Regions from separate parts of the Homo sapiens genome. Here region 1 is linked to region 2. Evidence: promoter capture Hi-C in human tissues and cell types (Jung and others, 2019). All regions are on one chromosome and are shown on one strand. The core of a region is centred on a gene start or on the middle of the fragment in contact, and the rest is flanking DNA. Distances in the headings are between cores, read along the strand shown.

The links. Contacts are between HindIII fragments. The study calls those that stand out against the background at their distance.
Region 1: a contact is called between a fragment that was not itself captured here and the fragment with the promoter of SFRP2 in region 2, in 1 of the 25 tissues and cell types used here (dorsolateral prefrontal cortex).

What each region holds. Positions count from the first base shown.
Region 1 is chr4:154,302,025-154,307,109 of GRCh38, reverse strand. It overlaps DCHS2 (dachsous cadherin-related 2), which reads left to right. Exons shown (of 20, transcript NM_001358235.2): 11 at 1,879-2,013; 12 at 2,232-2,441. Among named protein-coding and RNA genes, the nearest start is that of DCHS2, 190 kb to the left of the region's middle. The HindIII fragment of the contact is 3,082 bases long and covers 1,712-4,793 here.
Region 2 is chr4:153,787,741-153,793,006 of GRCh38, reverse strand. It overlaps SFRP2 (secreted frizzled related protein 2), which reads left to right and starts at 3,924. Exons shown (of 3, transcript NM_003013.3): 1 at 3,924-4,673. The coding sequence starts at 4,172. RefSeq lists enhancers at 1-83, 316-610, 2,293-2,994, 2,995-3,696, 3,611-3,780 and 2 more. The HindIII fragment of the contact is 9,313 bases long and covers 1-5,266 here.

The DNA of each region.
Region 1 (5,085 bases), core at 2,003-4,502, 510 kb before region 2:
ATTTGTAAAGGGTATGAAGTTTGGGGTATGAAAAATGTGTGTATGCAGACTACAGTTATAGGTAAAGATCTTATTTATCCTTAATAATATACTAGGAGGGTTGAAGGTTAATGTATTGTTATCTTAGGGATAAAAAACCTGTATAGAATAATAGAACAAAATAAAATCTGGAAGTTTCTAAAAAGTCAGAGAAATATTGAGTAGAGTGGTGAAGCACATTAGAGGATAATGGGAAGGGACAGCAGAAAGATCTGAATTTATGTGTAAACAATTGAAGACATTTTCTAGGTTTGGCAAGTGGTGAGAATTAAAAATGTATAATATATAGCATTCTATAATATGTAATACAATACATAATATGCAATGGTATATATAATGTGTAAGAAAATCATATAAAATAATATGAAATGGTGTATATATAATGTGTAACAAAATCATATAAATGAGCTCATTCATTTAAAAGATCCATGTAATCTTTTTGAAGACAGAGGTCATATCTGACTCAGCACTCTGTCTTTGGCACATAGTACTATGCTTGGCACCTGATATTTCTCTCTTTTTTTTGAGGAAAAGGAAAGTAAATATAAGATAATATTGTTCCCATTTTTATAATGTAGGCAGAGATAGGAATAACAAATTTTAACAACCTGGAACTTTAAGAAATTCTGTCTTGCTATAGAATAGATTATATGATCCTTAAGTTACTGAAATAATCACTATGACTCTTTAGTAATATCATTAATAATATACGTAATGCCTAATAATAGAATGAAACATTTTGGTGACCTCTGACCATGTCATATCAAATACATTGGTCCTATGTTATTAGACTTTTTTTCTCAGGGTCATTCCAATGCCTGCAGATTATATCTCAAATATATTTCTCCTCCAAGTTATATAGTAATATGATATGTATTTTCATTCTTATATAAAACTAGAATTCTATTTCACTCCTTTCAGCTCTCAGTCCTATATAATATCTGCCAGATCATAATGTAATGAAAATTTACTTTTTAAGACTGGCAAGATGGAAATTTGTAATTGAAGATTTTTTGTTAAGGCCAAAAGAATGACATTTCGTCTTTTATTAAAGTATAACATCATATATTCTCAGTACTGTGTGTACACCTAGATTCTTGTCAGTTAAGAAAGGAACATAGGAAAATAACTGAGAGGAACTTGTGTAAAATGCAATAAATTACAATGGCATGGGACAGACTCATTAAAATTAGTAGTATGAATGATCTTCATAACCAGAGATGGAAATGACGTGATACTTTTCTCAGGGGAGAAATGAAACCACAAAAATATGGGAAGAATTATTTCCAAAATGCATAATAATGTGGTACCACATTTCTCACTCCAGATAGCAGACTGAACACTAAGTCGAAAACAAAACAAACAGAAATACGTGTATAAGCAATTCTAGGTGCTCGCTTCTTGAGGTTGAGAATAAACAGAGTTCTATAACTTAGCACGGGCTTTTAAACAGCAGGTCAATCTACAGAAATTGTCATTTGCCCTGCAAGCTTACAATTAAGTCATTAAATCACAATCAGAGGTGTTAGAAGGAGTAATTAGGAATATGTTGTAGAGTTGCACACTCATAAGAAATTTTTTATGGGAAGGAAAAAATTCTAAGCATTCACTGTGGGGAAGTCTCATAAGACTTTTGAAAATCAAGCATTTCAGCCCATGAGGCTTTTATTTTAGCAAGAACAGCCAAAAGAGGTTTTCTTTTACCTTAATTTAAAGGCTGTTTGAGAATCTTGCCATTTTCATCTATGGCCTAACATGTTCAAAGGAAAAGAAATAGGAAAGTGGATAAATGTATTTCAAAGAAATGATTGCTAAGTTTTTCTTTATATTTTTCTTAAGGAGTCAATTCCAAGCTTCAGTTTGAAATCATGCCAGGTGCTTCATTTGAATTATTCGAGATAAATTCTGACACTGGAGAGGTAGTGACAACCACCATACTTGACAGAGAAATTCAAGAAGTCTTCACCCTTCGAGGTAAGGGATTCTTTGAGTAGGCTAAAAAATAAAAATTAAAAATTAAATTTAAAAAAAACCTGTTAAGTGGTGAAATGTTATATTTTGTTGGGGTGTTTTTAAATAAAATATTATTGAGCCAGTGCTACCTGGTTAGCCTGACATTGTCTAGTTAGAACAACATATTTTAGGTATGAATCAAAGGCCACAATTCATACCGTCTTTGTGTTCTGTGTCAGTACTAGTACGAGATGGGGGATTCCCTTCATTGTCCAGCACCACAACAATCCTCTGCACTGTTGAAGATGAAAACGATCACGCACCAGAGTTTATTGTTTCCAGTTATGACATTGAGGTTCTGGAAAACCAGGAACCAGAGGTTGTCTATACGGTTTTAGCCTCTGATATGGATGCTGGCAATAACAGAGCTGTTGAATATCACATAATTGGTAAGTTTGTTTGTTTGTTTGTTTGTTTGTTTGTTTTTTTAAGACAGAGTCTCACTCTGTCACCCAGGCTGGAGTGCAGTGGCGCGATGGCTCACTGCAACTTCACCTCCCAGGTTCAAGCAATTCTTGTGCCTCAGCCTCCCAAATTGGTAAGTATTTTTAAATTAAAATTTATTCCAGGATGCTGACTGAGTTGACACACACTCTCTGTTGATTACTCTGTGTTTGATACCTGTTGCTTTTCTCTACAAAATACACACCCAGTCAGAACTGACTGGTGCCATGAGCTTTCTCTCTACCTCCTTCTCACAGCCACCTTGAACCACTGCTCTCCACATTCTTTAAAAATCTGCCTTTGCAAACTGCTGTGAATTTTTTTCTATGCTAACATTAGTGGATGTAAGGATGGAAAAGATAGTGTTTTTCTATTTTTGTTGCTTTCATGTGATCAGTTTTAATTTTTTTTAATTTTTCTTGTCTCATAGACAGATTCTTACTGGGTCATTTCATCCAGTCTCTGTCTTTAGCTACCACTGGGATGCCAATGGCTCCCATCTCCATCTGCATCCTAGATCTAGGTCCCGTTAAAGGATATTGTTTTTAAAAGTAAAGTAATAACTCTCATACAAATATAAAAATGGTACCTGCGAATAACTTTTATTTAATTCACTAATGAATAAGTAAACCAAAAAGATGTTAAAATGGGTTCAAGGAGAATTCCAAGAGCCATACACAGGCACATACACACACAAAGGGAATAAGGAATTCTGAAATGCAGAAAAGGTGTATTTGCAAGACAACAATCAGTGCATTTCACCAGATTTACTTGCATTTCTGTGGATAAGAATCATTTACATTATTATCAGTTTTCAACAATTTACAGAGTGGTCAAAATGCGGTGAAGGTGGAAGAACATTCTGATGGCAAAGACACACTGGACACCTGTGCCCCACCCTTCTTTCTTCAATACCAGGACACCTACTAACCTTGTTCCTCCTATTTCAAATTATTTCACAATTTCCTAACAGCCCCAAGGACCCAGTCTTTATATCCAACAGCATTGCATTATCAGTGTGTCCAAAATGACACATCAGCCTCACCCCCTTTCTACCTCCCCCATCATGGTCTGGGTCCTTCTGCTAGTCTCTGCCAGTGATCTTCAGCTTTTTTTTTTTTTTTTTTTTGCTTCACTTACCCTTAAAATAATCTTGAAAACTTATGTACGCAGACATATTTTTATGTTGTCAACTAAACTTTTTTTAAAGAGTAACAAAGGTGTGTTTCCCAGCATATCCTAAATATTGACACATTAAAATAAGACTGTTATATCAATCACCTTTTAAAAGTATTTGATAGAATAAAAAAACCTTAAAAATATATGAAAGGTGTCCAGGTACGGTGGGTCATGGCTGTCATCCCAGCACTTTGGGAGGCCAACGTGGGCGGATCACCTGAGGTCAGGAGTTCGAGACCAGCCTGGCCAACATGGTGAAACCCCACCTCTACTAAAAATACAAAAATTAGCTGGGTGTGGTGGCAGGCACCTGTAATCCCAGCTACTTGGGAGACTGAGGCAGGAGAATCACTTGAACTTAGGAGGCAGAGGTTGCAGTGAGCTGAGATTGTGCCATTGCACTCCCTCCTGGGGGAAAAGAGTGAGACTTTGTCTCAAAAAAAAAAAAAAATATGTGTGTGTGTGGGTGTGTGTGTGTGTGTGTGTGTGTGTGTGTGTATACGTATATCTATTTCATATATATGTGTGTATATATACACGTATATATATTTCATATGTGTGTATATATACACGTATATATATTTCATATATGTGTGTATATATATAAGTATATATATATGAAATATATATAAGTATATATATATGAAAGGCATCCTCCCCTTGTGTCACCTTCCTCTTTCCTGGCTCTGCATGTCTCTTCATGGTCCCAAAGTCTCCACCTGTTCTGCCCAAGCTGAGGCCACCTTCTCAGCCAGGTTGGAAACTGGGAGCTCCGTAGCCCTCGGATGGCTGTGGGACTCAGAAATCTTTCCAGGAGCAGAGAGCATACCTTGGATTGGCAAAGCTGCCTGCCAAGCCACCATGCCCAGGAAATCGGCTAAAAAGGTGACACAGCAAAGGTGATAGAGGAGCCACACAGGAGATAGGCAGGGTTGTCTGCTAAACCTGCCCTTCCAAAAACAAAAGCCAGGCCTAAAACAGCCCCCACAACTCGGCAAAGAAGGGAGTGAGGTGTGTAAGGGGAGAAAGGGGAAGGGGATGCTGGCAAGGATGAGAACCACCCTGCACAAACCAAGACGCCTGCACAGCGCAGTCACAGGGAGCGCAAGGCGCTGGGAATGCCAAGTGAATTGTAAATTTTCATAGCTCACAGACTCTACTGTTTGAAATATGATTTTTTTAAGTTAATAAAAATGTAGAATTTTACTTAAGTTTTTTTCAATTATATGTATGAATGAGCATTTTCAGTTATATGTTTTGCATTTTTACTTCTTCAATCAATATTACCTTTCTACATCCTTGCAGAATTTTACCATAACGTAATGGACTTTTATGCTTAAAATATTGATCATTTTATTATACTTTTCTACAATTAAAATATGTGGATAAATTTAAGACTTCTAAAAATTT
Region 2 (5,266 bases), core at 2,675-5,174:
TCGGCCTCCCTGGACCCTTCGTTTGCTTTCCGAGCACCCATCTGGGGCCCAGACCCTTGAAATATTTAAGGAGATACGCGCAAGAGCTCGGGGTAGGAGTTGGCAAACTGTTTGTTCTCAGACTAGACTCTTCCTAAGATGAGGGGCAAAGGCTCTCCAGACGCAGACTCTGGTCTCGTTCTCGGAAATCCGCGTCTGAACCGATGGGGTCCGAGGAGCAGAAGCGTACACGGAGGTGCACGGCCGCGGGCACAGGTCCCCCCGCGTGGCAAGAGGAAGCGGCCCAGCCAGCTGCAGGGGCGTCCTCGTTGTGGGGCCGGGTAGAGGGAGGGCCAAAGGCGAAGGAATGAGGTCATCCCCCCACCCCTCGAAAAAACCTTCCTAAAAGTAAAAATGTAAGGGATCTCAGCGTAAAGGAACCTGACTTGCAACCTCAAAGGGACAATCTCTGTTTTGGGAAATGGCGCCCCCAGATGGCTGAATCCCATGAAAAAATACTCACCCGGAGCAGGGAAGGCCTGGGTGCACGGACCCGGGGAGAGGTGACGTCACCCGCCCGGCTGGCCAGCGCACGGCTGAAAGCCAGGCGGCAACGCGGTTGGAGACACCCGACAAGTCGCGACAGGTCCCCAAGGCTAGCCCGGTAGTCACTTCACCTCACCGAGGCACATGTAACGTCAGCAGCTGTACCACTTACGGTGTGGCCCGGTTCGTTACTTAACCTCTCCATGCCTCAGTTTCCCAGTGACTGCTTGTGTGCAAAATGATCATCCGGGAGCCGGTGCTGGATTGTGTGAATTAAGGAACTAGCATTTTACACGCATCGTTCTTCTCGCTTTCACTCCTCAGAAATAAGGGTCCATCCGCTTTGATTTTACTACTTGAGAGTGGGGGTGGGAGGCTCGCTTTTCCCAGCTCTTCGCGGAGGCCAAGCGGACTCCCTGACAGGACAGAATCTGAACGTGAGAGTGAAGGTCTTGCCTGTCCAGAAACTCTTGTAGCCAGCACAGGTTTAAACAAGAAGCCAAATTGTTCTGGAGAGATTGCTGGGGGCTTTCTTTGTGCCTCAAGCTTCTTCAGTGCCCTGAGCACAGGAAACACTCAAGCAGAGAAGCAGAGCCAAACCCAGGATACGGGAGGTCGAGGCTCTTCCGTAGACCTGCAGCATTGGGGTGGGATGATGTTCATTCTGTGTGTGTTCTGGACCAAGCCCCTCTCCAGGGACCTATGGGCAGCCCCCTTTAAGCAAGATGCCCGGTGGAGTGGGCATCCACCATCACTTACCCTGGGCTTGGGTGAATAGATTTTCCGTGCCTTAAATGGGCAGGGAGGGGGTAAACATGGACGGTCCATTGGTACAAATAAAAGCCTTTGGTGGGTTTTGATCAATTGCAAGGATCGAAGGAGACCTGTGGACCTGAGGTCAACTGGCAGCAGAGAAGAGTCTGGGTTCGTGAAGGCGCCGCCGCGGTGCCGCGCCACGTGTGAGCATCCCAGGGACCAGTCTGGGGAGGCGCGCTGGGATGGGCACCCAGTGTCCCATCCCTGCGCTGCTCATATGGGCAGAGCTCCGTGCCCGCGTCCCAGCCTCCGCGGGAGGTTATTGCCCTGTTCCCCAGTGATCAATTGGACCGGTCTTAGCCCAAAAGCAGAAGGGAGTGGGGAGAGCGACTTGAGGTGGGAAAGGCAGCAGCAGCGAGTGCAGGGTCGGGACCAGACTAAGTGGCGTGGGTTCCGGGAGGAGCAGCGATGGGCCGCAGGGGACGCCGCGGGCCGGGCAAACAAGCTGGCCAGAGGTGGACACTGCGCACGGCAGGGATGGAGACTCAGGCGCGACTCCCAGCACCTCCTGGCGGCAAGCCGGGCAGCGAGGGCTCCCAAAACAATGCAGCCGGCGCGCGGAGCGCGGGGGCCGCCAGCCACTTCCGGGCGTGCGGCAGCGCGGGGCTCAAACCAGCCAGACCAGCTTCGGGCTCCTTGAACTCCCAACAAGGGGCTCTGCGGGGAGGAGGCGACCCCAGCGGAGGGCGTTGGGGATTTAGGGGTTGGCCGGGGCCGGCGGGGGGTTGGGGGGGCGTGAAAGCGAGAGGGCCCTTATCCCACTCCCAGGCCCAAGTCGTAGCATCTCTCAGAGCTCACGCTCTTTATTAGCTCTTTCTTTTGGTGTGCTTCTGTTTCCTTTGTGGTTTCATTGCAAAGTAGTTTATGTTGGGAAGGGGGCTTTTAGGCCTCTTGGTGCTTTCGTTAGAGACGAAAAGGCCCTGAACCAATTTGGGGAAAGAGAGGCCTTTTGCAGCTACCCCGGGCCCTTCCCCAGCAGAGCACCCGGAAGCTGGGCTCTTAGGGACGCAGATTCTTGGAGTTCAGAATGTGCATTCTCTCCAGATGACGATTTTCCTGGCGTGTTTACGGTCAGCAGATAACACTGAGTGGGCTTTTGCCACCCATTCATTCATTACCCGGCTCCTCTAAGCAGCTGGACCGCAAAGTGTGCCTGATAACTTGGGCCTGGGAGCCGCCAAGGCCAACGCATCTTCCGGAAGGAGGGAAATTAGGAAGCCGGGGTCTGAGCCTGTGAATGACTCTTAAGTGGTCGGGAAGTAATAACAATGCGCCCACCTTACATATGAAAGAACTTCGCCCTCCGGGGATTATCTCTTTGGATCTTCACAGCCACCCGGAGACAGCGGCTGAGGAGAGCGAAGGCCTCCTGTCCCCATAGGGAGACTAGGGACAATTAGGCAAAAGGAGCCCACCCCCCAACCCAGAACTTACTGTTTGCAGTCAGAGACACTAGATCCCAGGCTCCACGAGAGCAGAGGCCGGCCTGTTTGTTCATTTCTGCACATCCAGCGCCCAGCATGGTGCCCCCTGGTACGTAGGGGATGAATGAGCTAATTCTAGCCCTCGTGGATCTCTAGGCAGGACTCCTTCCTCTACCTCGCTCCCTCCCAGCCTGCCCATCTTTTGTGCCCGTCTTTTGTGCCGGCCACCAGTCTTTACAAACAGTGCCCTGGGGGCCCATACTCCAGCTTTCCAGAGCGCACAGCTGCAAGGGCGGCTGTGTGTTAGAGCCCGTGATGCCTTCGAGTATTGAGTCATGCCATTCATTTAAGAAGGAAAAATCTCTCCAAAACGGGGAAATGGTGGGCAGTCCTGTGTGACTGGTGAGACTCTTGTAGGGGCGTTTCTACAACGACGAAACCCTTCCTAGGCACTCACTCCAACAGAATAACAAGCCCATTTTATTAGTATTTCGTTTTCCATGTAAAGTTCTGCTCATACGAATATATTTATAATTCTGATTTTTTTACGGCATTGGGGAGCACACCGACAGGCTGCTGAACGGTGGCTGGAGATTCGAGGGAAAACGAAGTTCGCCGAGGCGGCCTCGGGCGGGCAGGTCCCGGGCTCCATCACAGGGCACACGCGGCTACCAGGGACGCAGCCCCCCAACACACACACACACACACACACACACACACACACACACACACACACCCTCTCCCACTCATGCCTGGCAACCCAGCAGAAACTTCGGACTGGGGCAAAACAAGCCCGGGCCCCGGCGGCACGCGGGGCTAGGCGCGTTCCCGCCAGTACCTGGTCGCGAGGCCGCTCGCGGGGTGCCCTGCGTGCCCCCCACTCCCGCAGCCCGCGCCCTGCTCGCTCACTGTGGGGGCGCAGCGGCCAGGCTTCTCTGTTTGTTGTTTAAAGAAATCCTAGGGCGGGCGAGCGGCGGCATCTAGGGGAGGGGGCGCAGCCAGAATTCCCTTCCAGCAAGCGCGTGAGGGGCATTCTCAACGCAAAACCAGACCCAGAAAGTAGTGACCAGCCCTCCTCGGATTACCCTTCATTGGCTCCTCCCTTGCTCCCCCCACCCTCCAGATTTGCATAAAAAAGGCCAAGAAAACTCTGGCTGTGCCCCAGCAACGGCTCATTCTGCTCCCCCGGGTCGGAGCCCCCCGGAGCTGCGCGCGGGCTTGCAGCGCCTCGCCCGCGCTGTCCTCCCGGTGTCCCGCTTCTCCGCGCCCCAGCCGCCGGCTGCCAGCTTTTCGGGGCCCCGAGTCGCACCCAGCGAAGAGAGCGGGCCCGGGACAAGCTCGAACTCCGGCCGCCTCGCCCTTCCCCGGCTCCGCTCCCTCTGCCCCCTCGGGGTCGCGCGCCCACGATGCTGCAGGGCCCTGGCTCGCTGCTGCTGCTCTTCCTCGCCTCGCACTGCTGCCTGGGCTCGGCGCGCGGGCTCTTCCTCTTTGGCCAGCCCGACTTCTCCTACAAGCGCAGCAATTGCAAGCCCATCCCTGCCAACCTGCAGCTGTGCCACGGCATCGAATACCAGAACATGCGGCTGCCCAACCTGCTGGGCCACGAGACCATGAAGGAGGTGCTGGAGCAGGCCGGCGCTTGGATCCCGCTGGTCATGAAGCAGTGCCACCCGGACACCAAGAAGTTCCTGTGCTCGCTCTTCGCCCCCGTCTGCCTCGATGACCTAGACGAGACCATCCAGCCATGCCACTCGCTCTGCGTGCAGGTGAAGGACCGCTGCGCCCCGGTCATGTCCGCCTTCGGCTTCCCCTGGCCCGACATGCTTGAGTGCGACCGTTTCCCCCAGGACAACGACCTTTGCATCCCCCTCGCTAGCAGCGACCACCTCCTGCCAGCCACCGAGGAAGGTAAGCCTTCCCTCTTGCTTCCCCACTCCCTGCTGGGCTGAGACGCTCCCAGGAGATCCCGCCCCTGCCACGCATCCCAGTGCATCCCTGCTTGGGGTGCCAGTAGCGGGAAGGGCAGAAGTTCTGCCTGACCTGGTCTGTCATCACAACAAGCCTGTATCAAATTTGAGGCACCCCTCCCACGCCGCCCAAGTCTCGCGCATTCTCCTCCCGAGTTGTACCAGCTATACTTAAGGGCAGTTTAAAAATAAAACAAACAAACAAAAACAACAAAACTAAAAAAACGAAGAACTGAACGGCGGTTTAAAAAAAAATAGATACACGATTATTGTTAAAGATGCTAGCACTGGAGCTGCGCAGAGCGTTGGAAGTGGTGTTTGGTGGAGGAGTTTGTGGTGAGCATTCTGGCCAGAGGCCCCTCGCTCAGCCTCATTCTGCACCTTCCTACCACTGGGCAGGATTCTAGTCACAGGAACATTTCCTGTACAGAAAGGAAAACCAGGATGCACAAGTAGATAACCTTTTAAGGGTCTTTTTGTCCTTTGTCAATTTAGATTTTGGAAATAAAACCGGGACTGGCACGGAGTGTGTGG